Regions from separate parts of the Homo sapiens genome. Here region 2 is linked to region 1. Evidence: promoter capture Hi-C in human tissues and cell types (Jung and others, 2019). All regions are on one chromosome and are shown on one strand. The core of a region is centred on a gene start or on the middle of the fragment in contact, and the rest is flanking DNA. Distances in the headings are between cores, read along the strand shown. Region 1 holds the start of MRPL3 (mitochondrial ribosomal protein L3). Region 2 overlaps CPNE4 (copine 4).

Region 1 (6,856 bases), core at 1-2,500:
AAAAGAAAAAATAAATAAAACCAAACCACAATTTAAAAACTTCCTCCACTTAATATAGAAAAGGGAAGTCACAAATTGGAAAGTGTAGTCAGGGCCTTGGGAAAGGGCTTGGATTCTGTATACCTTTTTTTCAGGTCTCCAACCTTTTCCTCACTCCCCACATTCCTTCGGATAAGGCTCACATTTAAACTGTTAGTCGTTACCCTGGAGAAAAAAATTCATCTTCTCCTCGCAGATAAACATATTCCCCAAAAAACAGTCCTACCTATAGACATGAAAAGCCACTAACCCATTTGGAAGTGTACCTTAATAGTTTTACATTCAGTGGAGGTGGCAGAAGGTGGCATGTTGATCTTTGTCTAACAAGCTCACCTCCTCCCTGCAATGACATGGCCTAGGTTCAGAGAAGTGAAGAAACTGGGTGTGCAAAGTTAAAAGATCCACAAAAGGCATGACCTCTGAACAGGTGAACATACCAAGAAAGACCTTAGTGGGCGGAGGTCAGGAAGAAGGGGTGTAATTCTTGCATGGAGGGTCAGAACAGAAGTAAAGCTTTCTGCAGTCTACTCTCCTTTTGTAGTCAGATAAATTCAGGCTAGATTCCTAATTTTCCACTTATTAGTTGAGTGACTTTGGGCAAATTAACTCACCTCCCTAACCTTCAGTTTTATCTGTAAACCTTATGATAGCAGTTTGCTCCCGTGAGGCTACATAAGGCACCTAATACACTTAGCAGAGCGCTTAGTACCTGGCAAACGCTCACTAATTGTAAGATATGATTGCTGTTAATAGCGTTCGCTGCTAGTGGCTGGCTCATAAGCGTTTTTTAAAAATCACCACTTCAATCCCCTTAGAACGTGCTTCCTTAGGTTAACGGCCCTTATTCTTCTGTGTCCCACGTCTCAACAGAGCCCCTTCCTCCTCCACCCAGGGGAGGCCCAACTGCACCAGGCCATTCCACTGCTTCAGGACGCAACTGTGCAGGTAGGACACCCTCACACCTTCCTACCTGTTCCCCGGGCCCAGGGCAGCACCCAGGCCGTCCCCGAGTCGACCCAGCACCTGGGCGCCGACCTGCGTCAGCAGCCTCCAACCCGGCATGGATTAGCCCGGGAAGACTCGACTCACGACTTCCGGGCGCCCTGCCGCTCTGCTTTCAGGGAGTCCCCACGCCACCGCCACGTGGACGCAGTAGCCGTGGGGAAGTTTTCGCAATGGCCGCCGGAACGGTCGCCGGCCGATGCTCTCTGCGACGGAAAGAAAGCCGCCGGACCCACTTCCGGTGCGTTTTACAATGAACTCCGGGCACTCGAGTCGCTCCCCGGAAACTATAGTTCTGCTTCCACCGTTGTCCTACTTTGGATGTGAGTTGGAGTAGGTAGGGGTGGGAAGGGACTGACTCGCCTCTCCAGGGGTAAAATAAAAGGGATGTTCAGAGTTTAAACTTTAGAAGAATAAGGACAGACTTCCTGAGGACGCTAAGGAAAATGAAGACACTTCTAAATAGTGCCCGTTGTGAGGCAATGCATTATGCTAAGCAGCGCTTCATAATCCTATATTTGTTAATCATAAAAAACGGTCCTGAAAGGAAGTATTTATTTTTCTATTATAAATGAGGAAACTGACTCAGAATTTAGGTGCTGGTCCAAAACAACACATCTGGCAGAGGAGCAGAGTTGGCACTGAAACAGGGTTGGCATGTGTTATCAATAGACTACACCCATAGAAATGATGTATGCCTTCTAGGGCTGGATCATAAAACATATTGTTACTTCAGTTTTTGTCTCTTGGATTGCTCCCTGTGGAGAAAGCTAGCCTTCATTTCCTGCAGACACTCAAACAGCTCTGCAGGGAGGAACATATAAAGAGGAATCAACTAGCCAGTCATGACTGAGCCACCTAGGAAGTGGATCCACCAGTCCTCGGCTGCAACTCATGGAGACGTTAAGCCTGAATCTCCCAGCCAGGCCGCTCATGAATTACTGACTAGGAGAAATTGCCAGAGAAAATAAATGATTACCGTTTTTTTGAGTCATTAAGCTTTAGGGTAATTTGTTATGCAATAATAGATAGCTAATACACCTGCACAAAAAATCCCCTGTCTTGGGTTCCAGATCTAGCCTAATAACCATGTATGTGACTAGGACATTTATTCTTCTACTAATTCCCTTATTTGTCAGATTACTGTTTGTAGAAATTTGGAAATAAGAACTTTAAAGTGTAGCTATTTCAACCTTCTCTTTTTACTAGAGATCTGGCTATCTTGGTTTAACAGGTCCAGACAATGGTCAATTCCTGGCCATTACTTGGACTTTAGTGGGCTAAAAAATCTTTGCTTTGCTTGTCCATTCATTCCACTCATTGCTGTTGCAGTTACCTTAGACACTTTTCAATAATACTTTGGACCTTGAAGGAAAAACTACATCTCTTCATTCTAGCCATGCTGCCTGGCTTCCCAGATACTTAAGGATGGCTCTTCATTGAACAAACATGTTTTGAGGTGTGCTACATGCAAGAAGTTGAGAATAAGAAGATTTCTGTACTACTGCCAATAACTAACATTTCTTATCCATATAGTGTGCTAGAGTATGTGCTCAGCATTGTGGAAGCCCATAAGCCAAGGCTACTAGAAGAAAACGTGAACTCATACAAAGTCAAGTTTAATTAGCTTGATGCAGCAAAAGACAGCATATGTCTGAGGATGTTTCCAAAAGAGTGACCTGGGAGGGGCTTGAAATGAAATTTGGACTTAAGGCTGAGTGATTTTAAAGTGGCATCAGAGAAGCAGGAACTTGTTTTAGAATGGGTGCTGTCAAGAAGAAAGGACAGTTCAGCAATTGGATATCTTGATAGTCTTTGTTCTAGAGACAGGAAGAACAGAGAGGAAGTGGGCATGATGTTCATAAGAAAGCAGGAATCACTCAGAATAAGGAACTGTTAGTCATTTTGCTGCAGTGGTGTGGCCTACAGTACGGTCTGTAAGAAATATTGTAATGATGGGCTGGGCGTGGTGGCTCAGCACTTTGGGATGCCAAGGCGGGTGGATCACGAGGTCAGGAGATTGAGACCATCCTGGCTGACATGGTGAAACCCCTTCTCTACTAAAAATACAAAAAAAAATTAGCCGGGCGTAGTGGCGGGTGCCTGTAGTCCCAGCTACTCAGGAGGCTGAGGCAGGAGAATGGTGTGAACCTGGGAGGCGCAGCTTGCAGTGAGCGAGATTGAGCCACTGCACTCCAGCCTGGGTGACAGAGCAAGACTCCGTCTCAAAAAAAAAAAAAAGAAATATTGTATTGATGTTCTGCTATAAACACTGCAGTCCAGTTACTAATAGTATTCATTTTTACTCTCTCAGTGTATTTTCTCACTTGATTGTTATGACAATCTGCTGTGACAATAGTATAATTATCTGGATCTTACAGTTAAGAAAATAGGCATACAGAGATTACATAACTTAAATAAAATCACCCAGCTATTAACTGGTAGAGCCAAAGACTGTGACCATAGATAGAGCTTATGCTTTTAGACATTTTGTTTCTTTGGCTCTCTATGACAAATATGTCACTACTCTTGCCTTGGAATTTCTTTAAGGCTAAAGAGGAAAATCGGTAAGTAATCACACGCAGTGGTCAGTGAGGATTGAAGAGGTAGCCATTTGGTCTAACCTTTTCCCATAGTACCAAATATCTCCTAGTCCATAAGGAGGACCTTGACAGCAGGCACCACCGCTGAACTGAATCAAAGTAAAACATGGTTTGTCTGCTGTCGTAAAAAATGTGTCTCCTGATTGCCAGCCAGGGCTGAGTGGTGTCATACTTGATTTAGTCACTGTAATATGCTGCTGACAGCTACTAGGCCCAGTTGTCAAGGGACCCAGCCTAGGCTTTTCTAGGGCAGTCAGGCACTGACCTAGAGCTTCCTGTTATTTCTGATGTCATCCTTCAGACACTGCCTTAGACCCTGAAACTGTAATGCCATTTTGCCTCTCTAAGATTTCAATTCCTTATTGGAACGAAGATAACTTGCACTTTCTCTTTTTAGTGGTACAGTTCTATAACTCTTACTCCGCTAATTCAGACCAACAGATGATCTCATAAACCTTCTCTTATTAAATAAAACATTAGGAATAGATTCATTTTTGAATTACTAAAGCCATGTTCAATACAAGAGAATCATCATAGAAGGAGCAGATTTCAAAGCAAGAGTTCACTGGAAATAATCTTTTATATGTGTTCCTGCCATTAGGCTCTACCATTAGCTCTTATAATGTTTGTGATATATCCTGTATAGTTGGATTATTGCAAGATGGTAAATTTTGTGTTGGGTAATTTCCACTTTAGTATTCATTTATGCTGTCTCTTAGTTTATAACATACCTTATATTTGAAATTAGAAATCTTTTAAACAATGAGTTTGGATTTACTAAGTTATCCTTTTTTTTCTCCATTTTTCTCAAGTTGTGAGAATCTAGCATATTTTAAAATCAGTAAAGATGTTATGAAAGTGAGTCAAGCATTCAATGGGGATATAGATAAAATAAACTTTAAGAGATTTTTGAACTTTAAGATTTCATTGCTGGCTGAAATAGAAAATTTGAAAGGCTGTATTGCAAAATCCACAGATACTCATTCAGTAAGAGAATGAATTCTGCTTCAATGTCCTTCAGTAAGGCCAAATCACAATTTGTAACTTTAATATATTGCTTTTAAAACATAATTTTTATTTGTAAATTCCCAAGTAAGCCCACAGACTTTAGGGTTCCAAGAGATGATCAGAATTAAAATTCATTTGGCTTGAAGAAAGCCTTAAAAAAATAGAAAAAAGCAGTATGGCCATGTAGTAATCTGGGTTTAAGGTTTCAAAACTTAATGTAATTATACCAATGTCCATTTTTTAAAGTTCTTTGATTACTTAGAAAAAATATTAGCAACAGACAATGTAGCATCACATGCCAGGGAACCAATGCTTTTCAAAAGGACATCTCTTCCTCCCTGGTCTTCCTCCCAATGCCAGTGTAGTTTTGATGGCCAGAGTATAGCTCCAAACCAGTGGATACTCTAGCCACCTAGAATCATAATCAGGATTACCCCTCTGAGCCTTACAGATACAGAATCTGGAGAAATTCTAAAGACTGAGTTCATTTAGGATTTTGATTCCACTTAGAGGAGGCCTAGGGATTCCCTGAAAAATGATAAATAACTAACATTTGCATTGCTTTTGCTAAGTGGCAGACACTGATCTATGTGCTTTCCATATATTAACTTATTTAATCCTCACCTGTGAAGTGGGTACTGTTAGTCTCAACCCCATTTTACAAATATGGAAACTGAGGCACAGAGACGATGAGCAGGTCATTCAAGTGCACAAACTTTACATTTGTTAAGTAAGTGGTGGAGACAGGAGTTGAGGCCAGGCAGGCTGTCTAGAGTCCAAGTGCTTAACTGATCTGCTGTACTGCCTCTGTCCTTAGAAGAGAAAGCTGCATAGCACATTATTGGAACACTCAGCTCAGCATCCAGAGGATGCCCCAGACCAACAAAGATTGATGATGATAGTGCTAAGCCTGCATCTTTAGGCGTCTCATCAGTCTAGATCAGAATCCGTCGGTCTCAAGAGAGAATGATGAGGCCGAACTGCTTGAGATATTCACCCATTCAATTCCTATGCAACCTCATTGGAGGCTTTTCAGAGCCCACGTGATGTTGAAAGCCTGTGATTCTCAACCCTGAATGTGTACAAGATTTACCTGGGAATCTTGCTAAAATGCGGAACCTGATTCATTAGGTCTAGGGTGGGATCTGAGAGTCTGCATTTCTAAGAAGCTCAAGATGATGTCAGTGCTGACCACATTTTGGGTAGCAGCATTCTAAAAATGGCTGTGAACTCAGAGCCAAGAGACTTGGGATTCAATCTCAGGTCTAAACTTAACTAGCAGTGCGACACAGAGTAAATCACTTCACCTCTCTGCCTGTTCATCTGTCCAGCTGAGGTCCCTTCTAGTCTTCTAAGTGAAAGTCCTTCTGGAAGGTAGAAAACAGTAGTTATATTATTCTTTCTTTTTTTTTTTTCTTTTTTGTAAAGATGGAGTCTCGCTCTGTCACCAGGCTGGAGTGCAGAGTCTCACTCTGTCACCAGGCTGGAGTGCAGTGGCGTGATCAAGGCTCACTGCAACCTCTGCCTCCTGGGTTCAAGCAATTGTCCGCCTCAGCATACCAAGTAGCTGAGTTTACAGGGGCCCGCCACCATGCCCGGCTAATTTTTGTATTTTTTTTTTTTTTAAGTAGAGACAGGTTTCACCATGTTGGCCAAGATGTTCTTGATCTCTTGACCTCGTGATCCACCTGCCTCAGCCTCCTAAAGTGCTGGGATTACAGGTGTGAGCCACTGCGCCCAGCCACAATAGTCACATTATTCTAAATGTTTACGTCCTAATTCTTGAAATCTGTAAATGTCCTTTATTACGTGACAAAAGGGACTTTGCAGATGTAATTAGAGTTTTGAACCTTGAGATGTGGAGATTATACTAGATTATCTGGGTGGGCCCAATGTAATTACATGAATCCTTAAAATCTGAGAACATTTCTGGCTGTGGTGAGAAATGTAACAATGGAGGAAGGGTAAGATAAATGCAATGTAAAAAGAATCAACCTAACAGTGTTTACCTGGAAGATGGAAGAAGGGGTCCACAAGCCAAGGAATGCAGTGACCTCTAGAAGCTAGAAAAGGCAAGGAACTATATTCTCCTGTAGGAGCTCCAGAATAGAATGCAACCCTGCAGCCACCTTCATAGTAGCCCAGTGAGACTTGTGTCAAACTTTTGACCCCTAGAATTGTCAAATAACAAATTTGTGTTGTTT
Region 2 (7,058 bases), core at 3,652-6,151, 38 kb after region 1:
TTAACTTGACGCTCTAGTGATTCATATGCATATTAAAATTTGAGAAGCTCTTCTCTAGAGAATCACAAACAGTGAGGCCAGGGCATAAAAAACATAGAGACTAACTTATCTTGGAGGCTTCTAAGAGGAGGTGGCTTTTAAGCTGAGCATATTTTAATACATAGAGAAGGGGTAGGGGAATGGCATTTGACCATCATAGGCATAGTGAGTTACCTGATGGAGCTGAAGGAAGTGTGTATGGCAGGTGGGGGACGAGGGGGTTTAGGGGTAGTTGCAGGATTGGTTGGGCATTTGGTTGGAAAATTGGCTTGAGACCAGGTGATGGAGAGTCTTGAATACCACACTAATTCATTTAGCCTTTATTCTATCAGCCTTATGGATCTACTGCATGATTTTGGGGTAGGGGCACAGGAGGACCATGTGATTTATGGTGATGATTCTGTAGCAGAGAAAGGTTGAAGCTGATATCATACATGGACTCTGGAGTCATGTAGAGCTGGGCTTTACTCCTGGCTCTGGCATTTAGTATTAACTGTACAACCCCTGGGCAAGCAATTTCAATGGCCTGAGCCTCATTATTAACTATTATTGAAGAGATTGAAAACTTGAGGCAGACTTAACAAGTGTTTGAGATTCCAAAAGAAAGAGGGCTGGACTGAATACCATGTGACCTGGTTTTCAGTTTTTTCTTTTCTATGTGGCTTGCCACTTGGCCATTTAACTTTACTAAGCCCCGCTGTTCTTAGAGGCAAAAGAGAAAAGAAAAATAATTCACTCTATCTCACAGAGTCTCAAAATAAGAGACATGTATCTTTTAAGCAATCTGAAAACACTGTAAAGAGTTTTTCTCAAGTGATCTTTCACATTTTGAAGATGTCATAGCATGATGGACATTTGTGATCTACAGATATCCCTTTATTTTATAAATAACTGCTCAGGGTTGTGTGTTAGACCATGGTCCATGTGTATACTGGGGCAGATACAAAAGTCATTTATACCCTTTCCTCCCTGGCTGTTTCTCATACAAAGGTTAGAAAGTCAAATCCTTGATTTTCCAGCTTCCTTTACATCTAGGGATAACAATATGACCCAATTCCATCCTTTGAGATATAAGTGAAAATTTCCTGGGGGAGGTTTTTTGGAAAGCTTTTCTCTCCTGGTTAAAAGTTAAAAGACTTTTCCCTTGTGAAAAGTCTTCAACAATACAAGAGTTTAACAGATTCTGGACTCAGGGCTACACATGCAAAAAAAATTTCAGATAATTAAAAATCACCAAAATGTGCTATTTTTAAAGGTGTATGTATTTTTTTAAGTACAGGAGTAGTAAAAGTATTAAATATGAAATATTAGCAGGAGTAGTATTTCGGAACTCTGTAAAAGTGTGTGGAGGTCATGGTGCTAGTGTTCTGGAAGACTTGTACATTTTTTCTTTTCTGTTTTTTTTTTTTTTTTTTGAGATGGAGTCTCACTCTGTCACCCAGGCTGGAGTGCAGTGGTGCGATCTCAGCTCACTGTAACCTCCGCTTCCCGGATTCAAGCAATTCTCCTGCTTCAGCCTCCAGAGTAGTTGAGATTACAGGTGCCCACCACCGTGCCCAGCTAATTTTATATTTTTAGTAGACATGGGGTTTTACCATATTGGCCAGGCTGGTCTCGAACTCCTGACCTCAGGTGATCCGCCCGCCTCAGCATCTCAAAGTCCTGAGATTACAGGCGTGAGCCACCGCACCCAGCCCTGAAGACTTGTACATTTCTGATGAACATTTTGGTTTAATCCCTTTGCCATTGTAATAGTCCAGGACTTAGTTTGGGACTTCAGCCAACATGCTCTGGACACAGTTGGCCCTATGTCCCTTTCCTCTTCCTTTCTATCTTGAAATAGAATGTGATTACTGGAGCTATAGCAACCATTTTATCATTATGTAGGAAGAGCAAAGGGAATCACAATGTGCTGGCTCTGACACTATTGAATCACTGACTCCAGCAGCAATGAGCCCCTAACTTCTAGCTACATGAGAAAAATACGTTCTATTTGTATAATCCAGGGTTTCTCAATCTTGACACTATTGACATTTGGGGCTGAATAATTCTTTGTGTGGGGGACTGTCCGGTGCACTGCAGGAAGTTTAGCAGCATCCTTGGCCTCTACCCACTAGATATGAATAGAAGCCCCATATTTGTTACCATCAAAAATGTCAGATATTCCAAAATGTTTCCTGGGGCATAATGTTACCCTTGGTTAAAAACCATTTATGTAATCCCTGTAAGATGGATTTACTGTTGCTTGCAGCAAAAAATATTCCTAAACCAGGCTGTCAAATAGATCTTCCTCTGATGATGGTAATATTCTATATCTGTGCTGTCCAGTATGGGAGGTCTTAGTCTCACGCAACTATTGAGTCCTTGAAATAAAGCAAGTCTGACTGAGGAACTGAGTTTGAAATTTTATTTTCTCTTAATGAATTTAAACGTAAGTAGCTACATGTGGTTAGTGGCTACCATATTGGACAGCATTGTTCCCAAAGGATCCCCCATCCCCTTGCATATCTGTGCTGGCAAGCAAATAAGGCTTTGGGGACATGTATTGGGTGGGAAAGGGTCAAGAATATGAATGAAGCTGGTAATAACAGTAATAAAAGCTTTATTTATTAACCACCTACATGGACCAGGCACTATCTTAAGCTTTATATAGACAACACCTTATCTTTGCAATGCATGTATCATTTACCTCATTTTATAGATGAAAGTCTGTGGCATGGAAAGGTTAAATAACTTGCCCAGAGTCACAAAGCTTAAAGCATATGATAGTTTGAGTGTGTCTCCTAAATTAATGTGCTGGGAACTTAATGATCAATGCAACAGGGTTGGGAAGTGGGGCCTCATAAGATGTCAGTATCATGGGAGCAGGTTAGTTATCATGAGAGTGGGTTGTTATAAAAGAGAGTCTGCCCCTTGTGCTTTCCTTCTCCTTGTGTCTTACATGTTTGCTTGTGCCTTCCATACTTCTGCCATGAGATGACCCTTGTAGGTGCTGGTGCTATGCTCTTGGACTTCCCAGACTCCAAAACCATGAGCCAAATACACTTCTGTTCTTTATCCAGTCTATGATATTCTGTTATATGAGCAGGAAAAAAGACCATAACATAACTTGTGCCCTGTAAGCTCTAAAGCTCTGAGTTATCATGCAGAGCAGAAAAAGAGAGGCAATTCATGAGTTAATGGCTTACATAAAATGATTTAAGCTGCTACCTTCCCTTTTATTTATGGCTTATTGAATTCAAAGTAGATTAGTTTGGGTAATGAAATGGATTTCAAAATCTGATTTGAAATCCATGAAGATAAGATGGGTGAGTATGCGCCTGGTGTTCTTCCTTGGTCATTCACAGAGCAGCCAGAGAATCTGTGTAGCACAGAGACTGTGAGCAGCACCCTACTTCCTTGCTCTGCCCTGAGCATTCCTCTTGTTGACAATGTCCCCAAAATTCCCTGCTCTCCAAGGCTCTGTCTTTCCTCAAACACTTAACTTAAGCTGTAAGCCTTTTCCCATGGCTACCTCTCTCTGCTTTGAGGTCCTGTAACAACATTTTAATTCTTCTCAACCACCCACAGGTTGCTTAGCATGTGATTTTTCTGCTAATACCTTTCTCCCAGTCATGCAATTCTCCAGTAAATGTCTTGAGGTGTGGATCCATGGTTCTATCATTTCATTGTGGTCCTAGTGACTAGCATGTGCCTTGCACAGAACAAGCATTCTGTAAGTGTTTTGGGGAAGAGGAGGAGACTTGAGGGTAGAGGTTAGAACCTTTCATAGTTCAGTGACATTGTGTCAGCACACAAGTGTGTGTGGGGAAGTGGGGAGGTGGGGGATGCAGAGGGGAGAGAGGGTGATTTGGGGAAGTTAATGAATCTCCTAGAGAGTGAACTCTTTGATCCTGCTGCACTATGCAAAGTTATCACTGGTATTCAGTGATGTGTCTATCTATTTTGTCTGTCTGAAAAGAATGCAGCATTAAAATCAGGAAGAACACCCTTTCCTCCATCTTAGACACCTAGGGAGAAACTAGCTTCATTAATGAACATAATTGCAGCAAATTTAGCCTGCTCTAGCTCATCCGTCTGTAAAGAATACTACTTCTTTTTGACTCTACTCCTTGCTGTCCATAGGCAGACAACTTTAGGGCTTAGTGCATCTCTTTCATTAATGAGTACCTTTATTTGAAAATCTCTTCCTAGGGAAACTTGAGGATGGCATATAACAACACAATTACCCCTCATCCACATGCACAGCCCTGGGAGCTTGTGGGAAGATTGACTGCTGTTGCTGTTACTTAGAAACTCTCTCTGTGATCAACTCTGTAGCCAGGGATTGGTTTTCTGCTCCTTCAGTGATTTTAATTACACTGCAGCCCTCCTTAAAAGTAGAGTAGTAATTGTGTGGCAGTACAGTTATGAACAATACCTCATCATCCAAGGAGCCTTGGAATGTGCAGTTACTTCCCTATGAAGTCTGGGCAGGTCATGAAATACAGAGTTCAGCTGAGGCTGCTGAGCTGGTGATCTATCTGAATTCTTATTTTAAAGCCTGTCCAAAGAAAGTGGCACAACAAACAGCAATTTCTGAAGAGCATATGCTAAAGGCTCTCACACTAGGACTGGTACCAGGATTACAGTCAAGTATGTATGGGGGTGGGAGGATGGATGGATCATTGTTTTGATGATCCATTTAGCTTTCCACCTCTCATCTGCAATTTCCTTACACAGTATAGGTGAGAGTCCAGTGTGAACCCAAGTTGGGAGTCAGATGTGTCTGGATATATCTGATAAACTCAGTATGAAGAATGTCAGGGATTCATTTGAATGAGTTTTTGACTGGAGGAGAAAGGCTTTACCAAATAAGGTTGAAGTGGAGGGGATGGCATCCTGCCTGACCCAAATAACTGATTTGAGCCCTATGCAGGGAGGGACTGCAGTGGAAGTTAATGAAGATACTTTCCAGCAGGGGTCTTTGAGATGTGGAGACACATCTCACTGCATTAATGACTCAGGTGACAGAGGGGACTCGGTAGCATGGAAAGGAGAGGATTCTCTTCTTTTCCAAGGAGACCACAGATAAGCTTCACGGTACTGAAGGTTCTGAAGATTCCCTGTTGCCAGGGCAGCTCAAGTTTAGTCACCAGCCCTGGGGATGGTATTGTTGGCATCTGCAGCAGTGCAGAGGGCAAGGCCTCAGTGGAAAGTAGGGGCTGGGCATATGCTCTCCTCTTGGGTGGCTTTCACAAGAAGCACAAAACAAAAAACACAAAGGCTATCCAGTAATACCCAAGTTACCCCCACAGGTGCCTAGACACAGCTAGGATACTCTAGAGGGGTCTTCAGGACTACCATTAGCCCCAAGGGAGGCTTTTATGAATTCAAGATGTCCTTCTGGGTGATTACAGCTCAGTAGGTGCAGGGATTTGTGGAAATTTAAAAAATGCTCCTTCCTCCATGGACACAATGTATCAAAACCTGGGAAGGTGGGAAAATTGTTACTGAGCATTTTTTCTATGTCATACTAGAGCATTGTCTAATGGTTCTGCCTCAAGGCCCTTGGGGAATGCAATGCTGCTTGACTGACTTACTATTTCTTACTGGTAAGAGCCCAAGACTGTAAAGTTAGGTATTAATTTATAGAAAACTGATAGCAGGCGATTTCTGGCCCACAGAGAGGGCAATTCAAAGATTACTTTTTTTTTTTTTTTTTACCCTCTTGGTCATTAATCAGTTTTCAATCTACCTTAGCAAACTTATTCAGCATTTTTTCCCACTGACTTTAACTGTCTTATTTATTTACTTTTTTTGAAACCAACTCTCACTCTCATCACCCAGGCTGGAGTGCAGTGGTGTGATCTCGGCTCACTGCAACCTCCACCTCCCTGATTCAAGTGATTCTCCTGCCTCAGCCTCCCGAGTAGCTGGGATTACAGGCGCCTGCCACCACGCCCAGCTAATTTTTGTATTTTTAGTAGAGATGGAGTTTTACCATGTTGGTCAGGCTGGTCTCAAACTCCTGACCTCAGGCGATACACCCACCTTGGCCTCCCAAACTGCTGGGATTACAGGGGTGAGCCACTGCACCCAGCCTTATATACTCTTTTGAACTAACTTTATCATCTTGTTTTGAAGGAGTTAAATAAATTTTTGATGCTGCTTACTATATTTTTTATAGAGGATTTAGGTTTCTATCATTTTGGAAATATACTTTGCCAAGGCAAACACAGACTTCTGCCAGGCCACATAGCTTGACAAGCAAAACATAAGCTGCATTTCAGTTTCTGCTTGGTACTTTGGGCAGGCACCTTTAGGCAGGGAACAAGCTGCCCATCTGTAGGCAGTCCTAGATGCACTAGAGATCCTAAATTATATGAATTATAGGGCAAGCATCAGTGAAATTTTGCCTACAATAGTTAGCATGGCTCCTGATCTGTAACTCAATTTATAATTTTTTTCTCCAAAGAGTCATGCTCTATATATCCTTGTTGTGGGAGATGACGTGGCCCAGGAAGGGATAGCTAAGCCAGGTCATCTCCCACAGCAAGGGTATGTAGAGCATAGCTGGTGTTGCTTCAAGAATGGTGGATCACCATAAACATTGGTGGACAAATGTGGGAGGTGAGCATGCTTTGGTTCTGCTCTTCCATGAAAAGTGCCCCAATGTGTATATGCATACGTGTTTGAAGTTCCTGAAGGGCACGAACTGGACGATGTCTCGAAGAACAGGCTCTCCCTTGGGTGACCTCAGAATCCCATCATCACCGTCCAGCATCTGCATGTCACTGAAGTCAGCGTTCCCTACTCCCACGATGATGACTGACATGGGGAGGTGGGAGGCATGGACAATGGCCTCCCGGGTGTCGGCCATGTCTGTGATAACACCATCTGTCAGGATCAGCAGGATGAAGTATTGCTGCAGTCAGATGCCCCATGATGATGGGGGGGGGTGAAGAGGTGAGGGAGACAAGGACAATACAATACCAGTTAGACACCCAGGTGGCCTCACTGCACATTGACCAAAGCAA

Evidence for each region. Contacts are between HindIII fragments. The study calls those that stand out against the background at their distance.
Region 2: a contact is called between a fragment that was not itself captured here and the fragment with the promoter of MRPL3 in region 1, in 1 of the 25 tissues and cell types used here (psoas muscle).

The regions. Positions count from the first base shown.
Region 1 is chr3:131,501,721-131,508,576 of GRCh38, forward strand. It overlaps MRPL3 (mitochondrial ribosomal protein L3), which reads right to left and starts at 1,251. Exons shown (of 10, transcript NM_007208.4): 1 at 1,010-1,251. The coding sequence starts at 1,101. It overlaps LOC105374114 (a long non-coding RNA gene), which reads left to right and starts at 879. Exons shown (of 3, transcript NR_189111.1): 1 at 879-984. RefSeq lists enhancers at 887-1,573, 1,080-1,149. The HindIII fragment of the contact is 5,057 bases long and covers 1-4,750 here.
Region 2 is chr3:131,535,848-131,542,905 of GRCh38, forward strand. It overlaps CPNE4 (copine 4), which reads right to left. Exons shown (of 16, transcript NM_130808.3): 15 at 6,710-6,946. Among named protein-coding and RNA genes, the nearest start is that of MRPL3, 36 kb to the left of the region's middle. The HindIII fragment of the contact is 6,018 bases long and covers 1,893-7,058 here.